Regions from separate parts of the Homo sapiens genome. Here all the other regions are linked to region 1. Evidence: promoter capture Hi-C in 16 types of primary human blood cells and fetal thymus (Javierre and others, 2016). All regions are on one chromosome and are shown on one strand. The core of a region is centred on a gene start or on the middle of the fragment in contact, and the rest is flanking DNA. Distances in the headings are between cores, read along the strand shown.

The links. Contacts are between HindIII fragments. The CHiCAGO score rates a contact against its expected background, and 5 or more counts as called.
Region 2: a contact is called between a fragment that was not itself captured here and the fragment with the promoter of SCAF8 in region 1, in 1 of 17 cell types (neutrophils). The highest score is 6.2, in neutrophils.
Region 3: a fragment that was not itself captured here is called in contact with the fragment with the promoter of SCAF8 in region 1 in 1 of 17 cell types (neutrophils); the score reaches 7.3 in neutrophils.

The regions. Positions count from the first base shown.
Region 1 is chr6:154,731,680-154,735,960 of GRCh38, forward strand. SCAF8 (SR-related CTD associated factor 8) reads left to right here and starts at 1,737. Exons shown (of 20, transcript NM_014892.5): 1 at 1,737-2,251. The coding sequence starts at 2,222. RefSeq lists silencers at 1,370-1,609, 1,640-1,759, 1,910-2,509 and an enhancer at 1,770-2,273. The HindIII fragment of the contact is 14,602 bases long and covers 1-4,281 here.
Region 2 is chr6:154,202,756-154,207,036 of GRCh38, forward strand. All of the region lies in intron 9 of IPCEF1 (interaction protein for cytohesin exchange factors 1), which reads right to left. It also overlaps a transcript of OPRM1 not described here. Among named protein-coding and RNA genes, the nearest start is that of IPCEF1, 150 kb to the right of the region's middle. The HindIII fragment of the contact is 4,421 bases long and covers 1-4,230 here.
Region 3 is chr6:155,251,784-155,256,064 of GRCh38, forward strand. TIAM2 (TIAM Rac1 associated GEF 2) reads left to right here. Exons shown (of 27, transcript NM_012454.4): 23 at 162-220; 24 at 1,165-1,270; 25 at 2,190-2,277; 26 at 2,636-2,790. It also overlaps a transcript of TFB1M not described here. Among named protein-coding and RNA genes, the nearest start is that of CLDN20, 10 kb to the right of the region's middle. RefSeq lists enhancers at 2,000-2,574, 2,575-3,148. The HindIII fragment of the contact is 3,714 bases long and covers 914-4,281 here.

The DNA.
Region 1 (4,281 bases), core at 487-2,986:
CACACCCGGCCTCAAAGCAGTGACTTCTGATTGTGAGAACCTGGCATGCACAGAACTGAGTGCAGTACTTTCTCAAGCCACAGTAAATGCTCCTTTAGATGGAGTGATTAGGGGACCTCTTTCAGGAAGATTGAAGGAGGAGGAGTCAGCTATGGAAAGGACAAGAGCAACAGCACCCTGTGTGAAGAGACACAATTGTCCTACCTATGAAAACACTGCTTCTTGTCAAGTAACAGAAAGGCCAGTGTGGCAGGAGGAGAGTCAGGGAGCAAGGGAAGGTGGTGTGAGCTGCGGCAGGCTGGGCTGGGCCTTCAGGCCATGGTGAGAAGTTATGATGGTATCAAATGGGCAATGAGAAAGTATTTAAGGGATTTAAGTAAGGGAGTGACCTGATCTGATTTATCTAAGAAAAACATCCCTCGGCTACTGTCTGGAAATGAACTGTAGGAAGACAAGCAAGGGACCAGTTAGGAGGCTACTGCAAGTGTCAGTAAAAGATCATGGCTAGGCCTGAAGATGGGAGACGGTGGAGAAATCTGTGACAGAATTTGAGATTTTGAAAGTAAATATAAAAGCACTTGGTGAGTTATCCCTGTTACCTTCTCAGTAGCCAGGCCCTATACTAAAGCTGCCAATGAAGTAGAATGAAGGCTCTGAAACCTCAAGAAGGGCCTTACTTTCCCAGTTTCACGGGGCTCTGCGCACAGCTCTTAGGAACTACCTTGATTCCAAAACTCTCCAAAAGTACGATCCTGCCCTTATGTTCCTCTCTCCCTTTGAGTGAATTTGGGAATGATTGTTGAAAAATGACTTTCAACAAGAGGACAGCAGTGTTCGGGGTTCCACGATACATCCCTATCTTTTAACATCGATAAGTATTTTTAAATTGGTACCTTATTTTGCGCTGCACGAGAGAGAAGGCTTTTTACTAGCAGCATCTCCTAATCCATCTAAGAAATACTGTATTTACCTTTACTCCAAGTATCCTAGGGCAAAATTCCTTTAGAACAATTCATCTTCCGAAACAGACGGGTTCCCTTTTCACCTATTCAAGTGTTGTGCATTCTAGGGTCCCCTTCCCGCCTTGCAGACAAATGCGCTCATTGTGCCACTCCAGTCCCTGGATCCTATGCAGCGGGCATTTCCTGCAAGGAGCTGCTGCATGCCTGTTTCCCTCGCCGCCTGCCCCAACCCGAATCCAAGGCTTTGGTTTCTAATGTTCCCTCCCTGTGCAGTTAAAACAATTGAGTTCAGTTACTAAATAGATGACCAGGAACTTTTTCTTGGCGAAGGCTGCGGATGTTTAGGGCACTGTCCAGTAAAGTTGTGAAAAGCAACTAAACCCTGCCGCTTGTGCAAAAGGACCAATCCACCGGGAAACAAGGGAAACGCGCACATTTCCTCAACTTGCCGCTTCTTGGGCACGTTTAGGCTCTTATTAGAGCCGCGCTTTGGAGTTGCCTCCTCCTGCTGTACAAACCCGCCGCGGCGTTCCCCCGGATGCCGCAGCGCTCACTCCCGCGTCCGCGGGGCGCGGGGAGGGGGCGAGGCGCGGGCGGCCCCGGAGCCAAGGCGAGGGCAGCGGAGCCCAGCCGGGCCTACGGGCGGCGACGCTCTGGCCCCAGCGCGCTCGATGGTTTCCGCGCGGCCGCCGGGGCTCGCACGGTCCAGTCGCCAGGGGGCGCGCTAGCCGGCGCCGCGGATCCCCGAACTGCGCGGCCCGACTCGAGTCCGCCATATTGGATGCCGCAGCCGCTGCTGCCAGCGCTTCCTCCTCTGTCTTCGCCGAGCGGGGCTGGTTCCTGCGGCCCGAGCGGCGGGGAGGTGAAACAGGAGCCCGTCGGAGGAAGGGGCAGAAGGGAGTGGAGAGTGTAGGGGAAGGGGCTAGAGGGAGGGGGACCGAAACGGAGCGGGGCAGAGAAGAGAAGGCGCCGCGGCCCAGCCCCTCCCCCGCCCGCCGCCGACCCGCCCCGGCAGCGCCTCTGTTCCCTAGAACGGCGCTCCCCCCGCCCTAGCGGCCATGCCGGTGCCGCTCTGCCGCTGAGGGAGCCCTTCCCCGCCAGCGCGTGCCCTTCCACTCCGCCCCGAGGTCGCAGCGGCCCGCTCTCCCGCCAGCGCCCCCTCCTCGCGGCCACGCAGCAGCCCGCGTCTCGCTCTCCCCACCCAGTGCAGTGGCCGCCGCCTCTTCCGCCGCCGGGCTCGGGGCCTCCGCAGCGACAACATGGAGGCCGTGAAGACCTTCAATAGCGAGGTTGGTATGGCAGCCGGGTTCCCCTGCTCCTGCCCGCACCGCCCCCACCCCTGGTCGAGGCCGGGGCCCGGAGGGTGGGCGCGGGCCTGCGGGTTTTTTAAGGGTGGGGTGAGCGGTGGCCTAGCAGTGCCCGTGGGGGAGGGGTGTTTCTCCTCTGGGTGCCCCTCCCCCGGGTCCGGGAGGAGGGTTGGGGGAGGGCCGCCCTGGGGCGGAGGGAGGTTCTGGCGTCTCCGGCGTCCTATGGAATGGCTGCGAGCTCGGAGGGAAAGACCCGGTTGGGCCCTCACCCGGAGACTCCCGACAGGTCCCTCGAGGTCAGTTCCGCCGAGGCCTGGCCCGCCCACCTCCTTCCTGGGCCTTTGAGGATTTAAGTGGACGCTGGACATGACTCTCCAGACCTTCCCGGGTCCTCACTGAGGCTAACACCGATTGGGGGCGGTGGGGGAAATGAACCTACGGGGTGTTGATCTGTGGTCACGTTACACGTAGTGTTTATAATTGAGGCATTGTTGACTAGGTAATTTGCCAGCTAGGGACTTGAGCTAATTGGATGGTTGGTAGGCAGGCAAAGGTTATTCTGCAATATCTTTTATTTTTACTCGCTCCTCTTCTAATCCATCACGACATAAAGACAAATGGTAGGGAGAGATCTGTGCATCGAGAGATGGAAGATTATGGGGGAAACATTTCTCGCTGGTTCATTCACGTGTCAAACAAGATTTTAAAAAGCAGATTCCATTTTCACTGTGTAGTTGAATTTACTAGTCTGGAAGAAGACAGGTTTTGATGTATTCAATTTCTTTTTAAACTCCGACTTCAATAGGCCTTAATGTAAACATCAAACATAGCAAGTACACATCTGCACAGTCAGCATTAGTATCCCTACCCGTACGCCTTGGAAAGTGTAATTATGGCCGGGAACAGTGGCTCAGGCCTGTAATCCCAGCACTTTGGGAGGCCGAGGCGGGCCAATCACGAGGTCAGGAGTTCAAGACCAGCCTGGCCAACGTGGTGAAACCCTGTCTCTACTAAAAATACAAAAAATTAGCTGGGCGTAGTGGCAGGCACCTGTAATCCCAGCTACTTAGGAGGCTGAGGCAGGAGAATCGCTTGAACCTGGGAAGCGGAGGTTGCAGTGAGCCGAGATCTGCGCCACTGCAATCCAGCCCAGTGACAGAGTGAGACTCTGTCTACAAAAAAAAAAAAAAGAAAAAGAAAAAGTGTAATTATGCTGGTAACTAAATTAGCATAAATTTTATGAACTCTTAAAGTGCCAATACTTTATTCGATACTATGATTGTTAAAGAGTATCTTTAATATTTACCTCTTAAAATACGAGGCTTTTTGCTGTGACGGCCCAAATAGGACAGTACTTTTAAATGCCGTTGCATAGTTTTATCTTGTTTTAATTTCTTTAAAAAGAAAAACAGTATTTGGGAATCTTAGCTAAGAGGCTAAACGGTAGATAATATTTGGGCTATTTTCAATAGCAGTGATACATAACTTTTTTTGGAAAGCATTTTCTTTTTTAATACTACATTTTTTATTTTTAACATTGATAAATTAGAGCAATAGACTTGGGAATCTTCTTTTTTTTTTTTTTTTGAGACAGAGTTTCGCTCTTGTTACCCAGGCTGGAGTGTCACCATCTCAGCTCACTGTAGCCTCCACCTCCCGGTTTCAAGCGATTCTTCTGCCTCAGTGTCCCGAGTAGCTGGGATTACAGGCGCACATCACCACGCCCCGCTAATTTTTGTATTTTTAGTAGAGATGGGGTTTCACCATGTTGGCCAGGCTGTTCTCAAACTCCTGACCTCAAGTGATCCACCCGCCTTGGCCTCCCAAAGTGCTGAGATTATGGGCGTGTGCCACTGCGCCTGGTGTTTCATTTTTTTTCATAGCTATCTTTCTTTTTTTGAGGAGTGTCATTCTGTCACCCAGGCTGGAGTGCAGTGGTGTGATCTTGGCTCACTGCATCCTTTGCCTCCCGGGCCCAAGGGGTCCTCCTCTCACCTCAGCCCCCCAAGTAG
Region 2 (4,281 bases), core at 770-3,269, 530 kb before region 1:
TGCTATGACTCAAACACAGTGCAAATGCTCTCTCAATCCATTTTCTCTAGGCACCAGGCACCACTTATAAATTTCATTTTTAAATGGAGAAAAGAAGAATGAAGGGAAAAAAAGAAATAGAAGAAACACGAAGACTTGGAGAAGAGGAAAAGGAAAATGAGAAAGTGACTACATATTCAGGTCAGGGGGAGTTTTCATTGGAAAAGAGATTGATAAAATACAAATACAAATGAAAGTGAACCTGGAGTTTAATTTCCAAGGATTCAGTATGAAAACACGCTTTATAGACCGTGTAGTGCTAAGGCATGGCTCATTATTTCTAACATTCTGGAGAAACCAATAGCCAACATCAAGCATAGAACTCTTAGCTCACTGCCTTCTGTGAACCATCTGTGCAACATACTCATAAAGCTCCCCACTGAAGATCAAATGAAAGCAGAAGGCAGTGCTAGTCTCTCCTCTCCGCCCCACCTCTACTGGTAAATATGAGCCCAACCTTCGTGTGTCTGTTCAAACACCAACTCCTCCAGGAAGCCTTCTCTGATAGTCTCGGGGCCAGGTAGGTGCTTTGCCTGGTGCTTCTGCGGTTATTTCTATCATAATAGGTGGAATGTCATTTTGTGTATCAACTTACACAGTTGTCCCTTGAACAGTAGGGATTCAAACTGCACAGGTCCACTTAAACACAGATATTTTCCAATAAATACAGTCAGCCTTCTGTATCCATGGATTCCAAATCCATGACTAAATGGGGATGAAGACAGCGTTTGTGGGATGCAGGATGAGAAACTCAAGGATACAGGGAGCCGACTTTTCGTGTAGGTGGGTTCTGCAGGACCCACTGTGGGACTTGAGTATGCACAGACTTTGGTCTCCATGGGGTTCCTGGAACTAAACCCCCACAGATACCAAGGGATGACTGGATTGCAACTACTGATTGACTCTTCATCTTTTTGATGAGCTACCTGAGAACAGGCTGGTTTTAATCATTTTTCACCTCCATTTTTTGCCTCTTGTTTGACACATAATTGGTGACAAATTAATGACAAAGAATTGGCCAGAACCAGCTTTGTGAAGAAAAGCGCCCCAGAGTTATTCAGCCTCTGGGGGAGGAGCTCCCTGAAATCCTCCATAAAGTTGCTGAGTGATTTATCCGAATCCCAGGATCAAGGGGCTATCGGTGCCAATTACAATGCAAATAGCCTGACAAAATGTTCTCATAACCTCAGATAAAAGTATTATTTTATTTAGTTAGTGATTAATAATTGTATGTGGTTTCATTCCTTTCAGAACACTTAGGTATTAAGTATTTTATATTTAAATGAGGAAGTTAAAGACATTTCAAAAATCTTCGTTCTAGTTAAGAGACTATGATATGATTACATTAAAGATTAATACTGATTTTTCCTATTTTCTGTATAGGATAGTTTTAATTCTTGAAGAAGCATCATTCAAATGTTAGCCCTAAAATCCTTTTCTTGGAATTGTTTTTCAAACACAAGTTTGACATGGTGAAAAAATAGTTTAAAATGGCCACCCAAACCCTGTAATTAGGCAGAAGTGAGTCAGCATAGAAATCTTAAGGAGTCAAAGTACATGGAAACAAAAAAGTCTAAACAAAACAAAACAAAACCAAAATGACAAGAAAGGAAGAAAAGTACACAGCTTCCCTTTCCTTGTATTGGCCATATTAGCAAAAACAAAAAATAAACCAGTCAATTGTTGTTAAGCCCCAGGAAGTATCATGTTTGTATTTCTCCTATATGCCAGGAGAAGCATCACCCTAAATACCAGAAGACCTTGTAATAGTACACTCCTTCTCTGTCACTGACCTTCTGCATGACCTTGGGCAATGTGCTGACCGAAGATCTACTCATCACTGTGATCCTTAGTATCCATGTGACCTTGAAGAAGTCATTTTACCTGCAAGTACCATTCTAGTGGCTTCCTGCCTTATCAGTGCCCCCCATCCCACCCCAGTCCATCCTCCAAACCACAGATAGAGTATTTCTAACACACACAAAAAGTCCACAATATTCCTCTGCAGAAAACCCTCTTATAACTGCCCATCTTAAGTAGAAAAATATCCATAGTATTCATTAGAGCTTAGAAGGTCCACATGAACCCCTAAGGACTCCTCCACCTGCATCTCCTCCCTCCTTCTCCACTCCTTTCTAGCCACACTGGCCTTCTTTCTGTCCCATCACCACATCTCTGGTCCCTTCTGCCAGAAAGGCTTCCCTGTGGATGTTGGGTGGACGGCCTCCTTCCCATTGCTTGGACCTCCACTGAAATATCACTTCTTCCACAGGGTCTTCCATGACAGAGCAGACAGAGCAGTATCCTCTCCACTCCCAACCCCTGGCCACTCCCTAGCCCATTGCCCTACTTCATCTTCAGAGCATTTGTCAGTCCTTGAAGTAATTTGTTTGAATTATTACTGCATTGTCCCTCTTCCTCAACACAGAACTCAAGATGCTCAAGGGAGAAGACACCATCTAGTTCCATTCAGCATCCCTGTATTTTTTTTTAATAAAAACAGCTTTATTAAAACATTGGCTAGATGTGGAGGCTCATGCCTGTAATCTCAGCACTTTGGGAGGCCAAAACAGGTGGATCACTTGAGGTCAGGAGTTCAAGACCAGCCTGGTCAATATGGTGAAACCCTGTCTCTACTAAAAATACAAAAATTAGCTGGGCGTGGTGGTGCAAGCCTGTAATCCCAGCTACTTGGGAGGCTGAGGCAGGAGAATCACTTGAACCCAGGAGGCGGAAGTTGCAGTGAGCCGAAATCACACCACTGCACTCTAGCCTGGGCAACAAGAGTAAGACTCTGTTTCAAAATAAAAACATACACACACAAAGAAACACATTAATTTATTATGTATTATTATTTAATTAGTTACCTAACTAGTTAGTGTATATGCTGCTGAATTTGAGCGGCTGTGTATTGTAGAAATATTTCAGAGGACAATGAATAAACTGCAATTAGGACAAGGTGCACATTTTCCATTTTTGTTTACCCCAGGCTGCCACTTAAAATCAAATGCTATCATATTTGATTATTCCTTCCTTTCTAACACATCATAAAGTTTTGTATCTCCATGCTTCTGCTTGTGTTCCTCCAACTAGGATTACAATAGCAGACCCTTCGGAAACTCACCCAGATCCCCTTTACCTGGCTATGCTGCAGCCTTCCCCAGCTGCTGCTAGGCCTGAAACTAATGGCTTACATCTGAGGCTTTTGCCAAAGGATTACCTTGGCTATCAAGAGATGCCAGGAGACTTTATTCTCAAAAGCTCTTCATGGCACCCCCATATTGGTAACAGTCCCTAGCACATGGTAAATACACAAAAATATTTATCAGCTGCCTGACTAACTCAAATTTATCAAGAGGGGCAAGTGATATCCCATAAAGAATATTCTTCATGAAACATAAGCAGCTTGCAAATGCTACTTCCGATAGCTATGTGTATTTCTCTGGAACCTGGCTTCCTCATTTGTAAAACTCATACAAGATTTCTGTGAGAGTCAAATGAAATCATTCTTCTCAAAGCCATGCAAAAGCACTAGACAAGTGGAAAGTAGTATATTTCTCATTCACATGGGGAAATATTTGTGGAACAAGAAATTTGCGGGGGTTGTGGATGAAGTCACAATAATCACTCACCCATCCATCTGTCCATTAAATGTTTATTTAGTTTCAAATGTGTGCTAGGCACAGTCATAAATGATGTGGGTAAATGAAAAGATATTGGGCACTGGCTCTGACTTTAAGAATTTAATAATTAGAGAAATAAACCAGATACACAAAATCTCTAATCAAAAGCAGATTGTGATAACAACATGAAAAAAATCATCAAAAAAAGAAACACTATGGGAATACAGAGAGTTCAGAAGAGGGAAGAATTACCCTGACCTAGAGGACTAGAGATGTTCTCATGAAGGAATCTACATCTGAAGCTACCATTTTGAAAGATACTTAGAAGGTGGGATTGGGGTGGGAGTCAGGGGCAAGTGGTCCTGCAAGTGGAGAAACTTTATACCTACAGGTACGAGGGCAGGAATGTCTGGAACGCTTTTGGGGAACAGCAGGCCGTTTGTTGGGCTGACGATAAGGGCAAAATTGGCAGCAAGACTGCAATGGCAGCCTGAAGACAGGCCAAGGGCCTAAAATACCAAGCCAAAGACTCAGGAGTTAATTTAAGAAGCAATGAGAATTCACTGGAAGCTTTTGTGCAGGTGAATCAATGTGATCAGAACCGCATCTTAGGAAGACT
Region 3 (4,281 bases), core at 1,521-4,020, 520 kb after region 1:
GAGCGAAAGGGAAGTACCATTTATTCACTCATGTTGGCAGAGTGAGGTCTTAGAGACTCATACGTTTGGAGAGTGTTACTCTGTTAAGACGTTCAGCTCTAGTTTAACCTTGGAAGAGTTTGCATAAAATAAAGACTTTCTTTCTCTTTTCCTTTCTTTAGTTTTTAAGAGAGCCGTCATACTGGTTTATAAAGAAAACTGCAAACTGAAAAAGAAATTGGTAAGGCAAAAATTCATTTTAATTTAAGCTACCTTTTCATAGCTGTATCTTCCTATTAACGTTGAACTGAAAAGCCCACTGAGCACCAAGGCTGGGCTGACTGATACTGCTTACTCTGAGGGTAACTAACCCCATCACATACTGAGAGCGTTTCTGAGTCTCCCCATGAAAGATGTCTGTTTTAAAAGAAGATATACAGCTGGGCACGGTGGCTCATGCCTGTAATCTCAGCACTTTGGGAGGCTGAGGCTTGAGCCCAGGAATTTGAGACCAGCCTGGCCAACATGGTGAAACCCTGCCTCTACCAAAAATACAAGTAACTGGGTGTGGTAGCACGTGCCTGTAGTCCCAGCTACTCGGGAGGCTGAGGCAGGAGGATCAATTGAGCCCAGGAGGTGGAAGCTGCAGTGAGCCTTGATCATGCCACTGCATTCCAGCCTGTGCGACAGAGTGAGACCCTGTCAATAAATACATAAATAAGTAAATAAAGTAGATAAATACTCATATGGGGGCCTACATAGAACATCGACTTTTATATCCCTGAAAATGGCCCATGTTTGTTCCATAAACATAGTCTGTGAAACTTTGGTTTATTTTCAAATGCCTTTTACCTTCACTCAGAAAAAAGCAAAGCCTAGCTGTGGATACCATATGCCATTGGTTTACCATTCAGAGGCAGCGTCAGGGCGTGGAAGCTTTGGCTGCTGTTCTTGCTTTGAGACCTGTAACTGCTTCTGAACCACAACTCTGCCTCCGCACCTTCCCTAGCATGTGAGGTCTTTGAGAACTGGGTGCGTAGCTGATTGACTTCTGTGCCCTGAACACCCACATGGCTGCTCGGAGACTCGCCCACAGGGAGAACATAAACTTCTATTCACTGTGCACACATCCTCCCTCAGTGACAGCTTCCCTAACACTTTTCTTGGTGGGCCTTCATGTTACAGCCCTCGAATTCCCGGCCTGCACACAACTCTACTGACTTGGACCCATTTAAATTCCGCTGGTTGATCCCCATCTCCGCGCTTCAAGTCAGACTGGGGAATCCAGCAGGTAACTGTTTCGTGCAGTATGATGCCAGAAAAAGCATTTTAGTAGACTTAACTGTGGAATGTAAATTAAGAAAGGACCTTGGGGATAATTTTTGGTGCCTTTTATTTTATAGACAAGGAAAATGAGGACAAGAGAGGTTGTTTTGATGTTCCTTAGCAGACTTCTGGGAGAAACTAAATGCTGGTGGATAGCTTTTTCTTTGCCAAATGCCTTTCATTGTTTCCTTATTTTCCCTATCAATAGTTTTCAACATTTTCCTTTCTGCCTTGATACCCTAAAATGTGTTAGAAGAACAAAGATCCACAAATTTATGTTTTTACAAATTTAGAATATAGCAGAAAATTCCTTAAGGTTAGGTAGTACTGTAGGTGATATAAAAAGAAAAAAATCTTTGACTCTGGAAAATGTTCAGAGATCCTTCCAGAGTAACCTTGTTTTGGTGACAGGTATCTGGTGACAGAAGAGGCCAGCAGGCTGAGTCATGCAGTGACCTGCTGGGCTTCTGTTTAACTTTTGTCAGAAGTGCTTATGTTTTCGAGAAAATGACCACATTTGGGGCAGGCCTCTTTTACCTCAAGTACCCCAGCTCCTGTTCCTTCCAAGGAAAGGGCAAAACTGCAAAGGAGGTTGAAGAATAGGATCCACTGAATCTCCTCTTCCCCAGAGAGGGGCTCCAGAGAGAGGGTGAAGGCAGTTCAGATGGAGGAAAATCTGCAGCAGGAAATGTAAAAAGTAACCAAAAGGCATTTCAGTTCTTGTAACTGTGAAAATCATACATAGAACAAGCCACAGAAGAAAATGAGCCAGGACTGGGAATATTAGACTTTCTTAACTGATGAGATTTCAACTTTACAAGTGTTCTTAACCACAGCATTTTGGGCAAAGTTGTAGACTCTTGTTTCCATTTCCTTTTACATAGGGACAGAAAATAATTCCATATGGGAACTGATCCATACGAAGTCAGAAATAGAAGGACGGCCAGAAACCATCTTTCAGTTGTGTTGCAGGTATGACTGACTTCCAAAGATTAAAACCAACAGAAATAACATAGAATTATGTCTCTTAAGGGAATTTATATTTAGTGCCCTCCTGAATTTTGATGATATCAGGGTCATACTCCCCACCCTCCGAAAAAGGCAACTGAGGCCGCTAGTAGGAGACTATGTTGATTAAATAAATATCAAAATCTTAAGAGTGATCAATTCTCACCTCCTTCTGTACGGGAGGCCACATGGCACTGCTGCTGGGTGGCTGGCTGGCAGCCTGGTCCAGCAGGTGCAAGGCACAGGAACACAGGCGGGCGTGGAATGGAAGCACGATGAACACTGTGGACACTTCTGCTGTTTTCTCTCCCCCCCCACCCAGTGACAGTGAAAGCAAAACCAACATTGTTAAGGTGATTCGTTCTATTCTGAGGGAGAACTTCAGGCGTCACATAAAGTGTGAATTACCACTGGAGAAAACGTGTAAGGATCGCCTGGTACCTCTTAAGAACCGAGTTCCTGTTTCGGCCAAATTAGGTGAGAATTTTGCTAGCCTTGTGTTTATTCAACAAAATATTATGAGCTTCTGAAAAGGATATATGCTCTTGTAACATAGCTGTGACTTTTCACTTTGTAAGTCATCGAGGTACCTTTATCTCCTTTTAAGAAACCTAAACATGCCTCTTGCTCCCAGACGTTCTACTGTAAAATACAGCCACCCCCAACCCCCAGTCCCTTGTCTTCCTACCCGCTGACATAGTCCAAATGTACGATTTTGTTTCTTCCACTAAGATGTGCATGGGTCCAGGGACTTTGTTTTCCTCACTGCTGTATTCCCAGTGCTCAGAACAGTGCCAGGCATCCTGAAGGTCAATGCTGAATGAAGATCAAGAACCTTACACAGAGGGTCTCCACCTTCTGATGGTTCAACCTACAATTTTTCGACTTTACCGTGGTGTGAAAGTGACACACATTCAGTAGAAATCGTACTTCGAGTACCCAGACAACCATTCTGTTTTTTGCTTCTAGTGCAGCATTCAATACATTTCATGAGATACTCAACACTTAATTATAAAACAGGCCTTGTGTTCTGCCCAACCATAGGCTAATGTAAGTGTTCTGAGCACACTGAAGGCAGGCTAGGCTAAGCCGCAGTGGTTAGTAGGTACATTAAATGCATTCTCGACTTTCCATATTATCAACTTAACAATGGGTTGATTGGGATGTAATGCCATCTAAGTTAAGGGGCCTCTTATACTCGTTCTTAATCGATAGGGCACCAAGTAAGCATTTCAAATCACGTTGTTCTTTCTGCTTGTTTCTAAAATTTCAGCTTAAGTTTTCAGAACCTTATTTCTACATTAACTATTTTGTTATTATCTTTCTTGTTTTTAGGCTTAGAAAATGTAAAACTTCGCTTTTTCATGTCAAATCAGTGTGACCTCTTCAGATCTACCACATATTTACTATTTTCTCCATTGTCAAAATAAACTGGCCATCAAAATAACATGCTGTTATTACTTTGTAGAAACACCAAAACTGAGAACTCCCTTCCTTCTTTCAATCCAAGAGAACAGAACTACACACACACACACACACACCTATAACATAAAATTTCAGAAAGTTGTTTTGAAATTCCAGCAGAGACAGTTCTCATATGAGAGATAAAGAGCATTTTCTAGGCTGGGCATGGTGGCTCATGCCTGTAATCCCAGCACTTTGGGAGGCCAAGGCAGGTGGATCCCTTGAGCTCTTGAGAACAGGAGTTTGAGACCAACCTGGGCAACATGGCAAAACCCCATCTCTACAAAAAAAATATAAAAATTAGCCAGGCGTGATCATGCGCACCTATAGTCCCAACTACTCAGGAGGCTGAGATGGGAGGATCACTTGAGCCCAGGAGGCGGAGGTTGCAGTGAGCAGAGATCACACCACTGCACTCCAGCCTGGGTGGCAGAGCAAGACACTGTCTTTAAAAAAAAAGGGGGGGGGAGGGGCATTTTCTACTTTTAATTGAGCAGCAAGGGA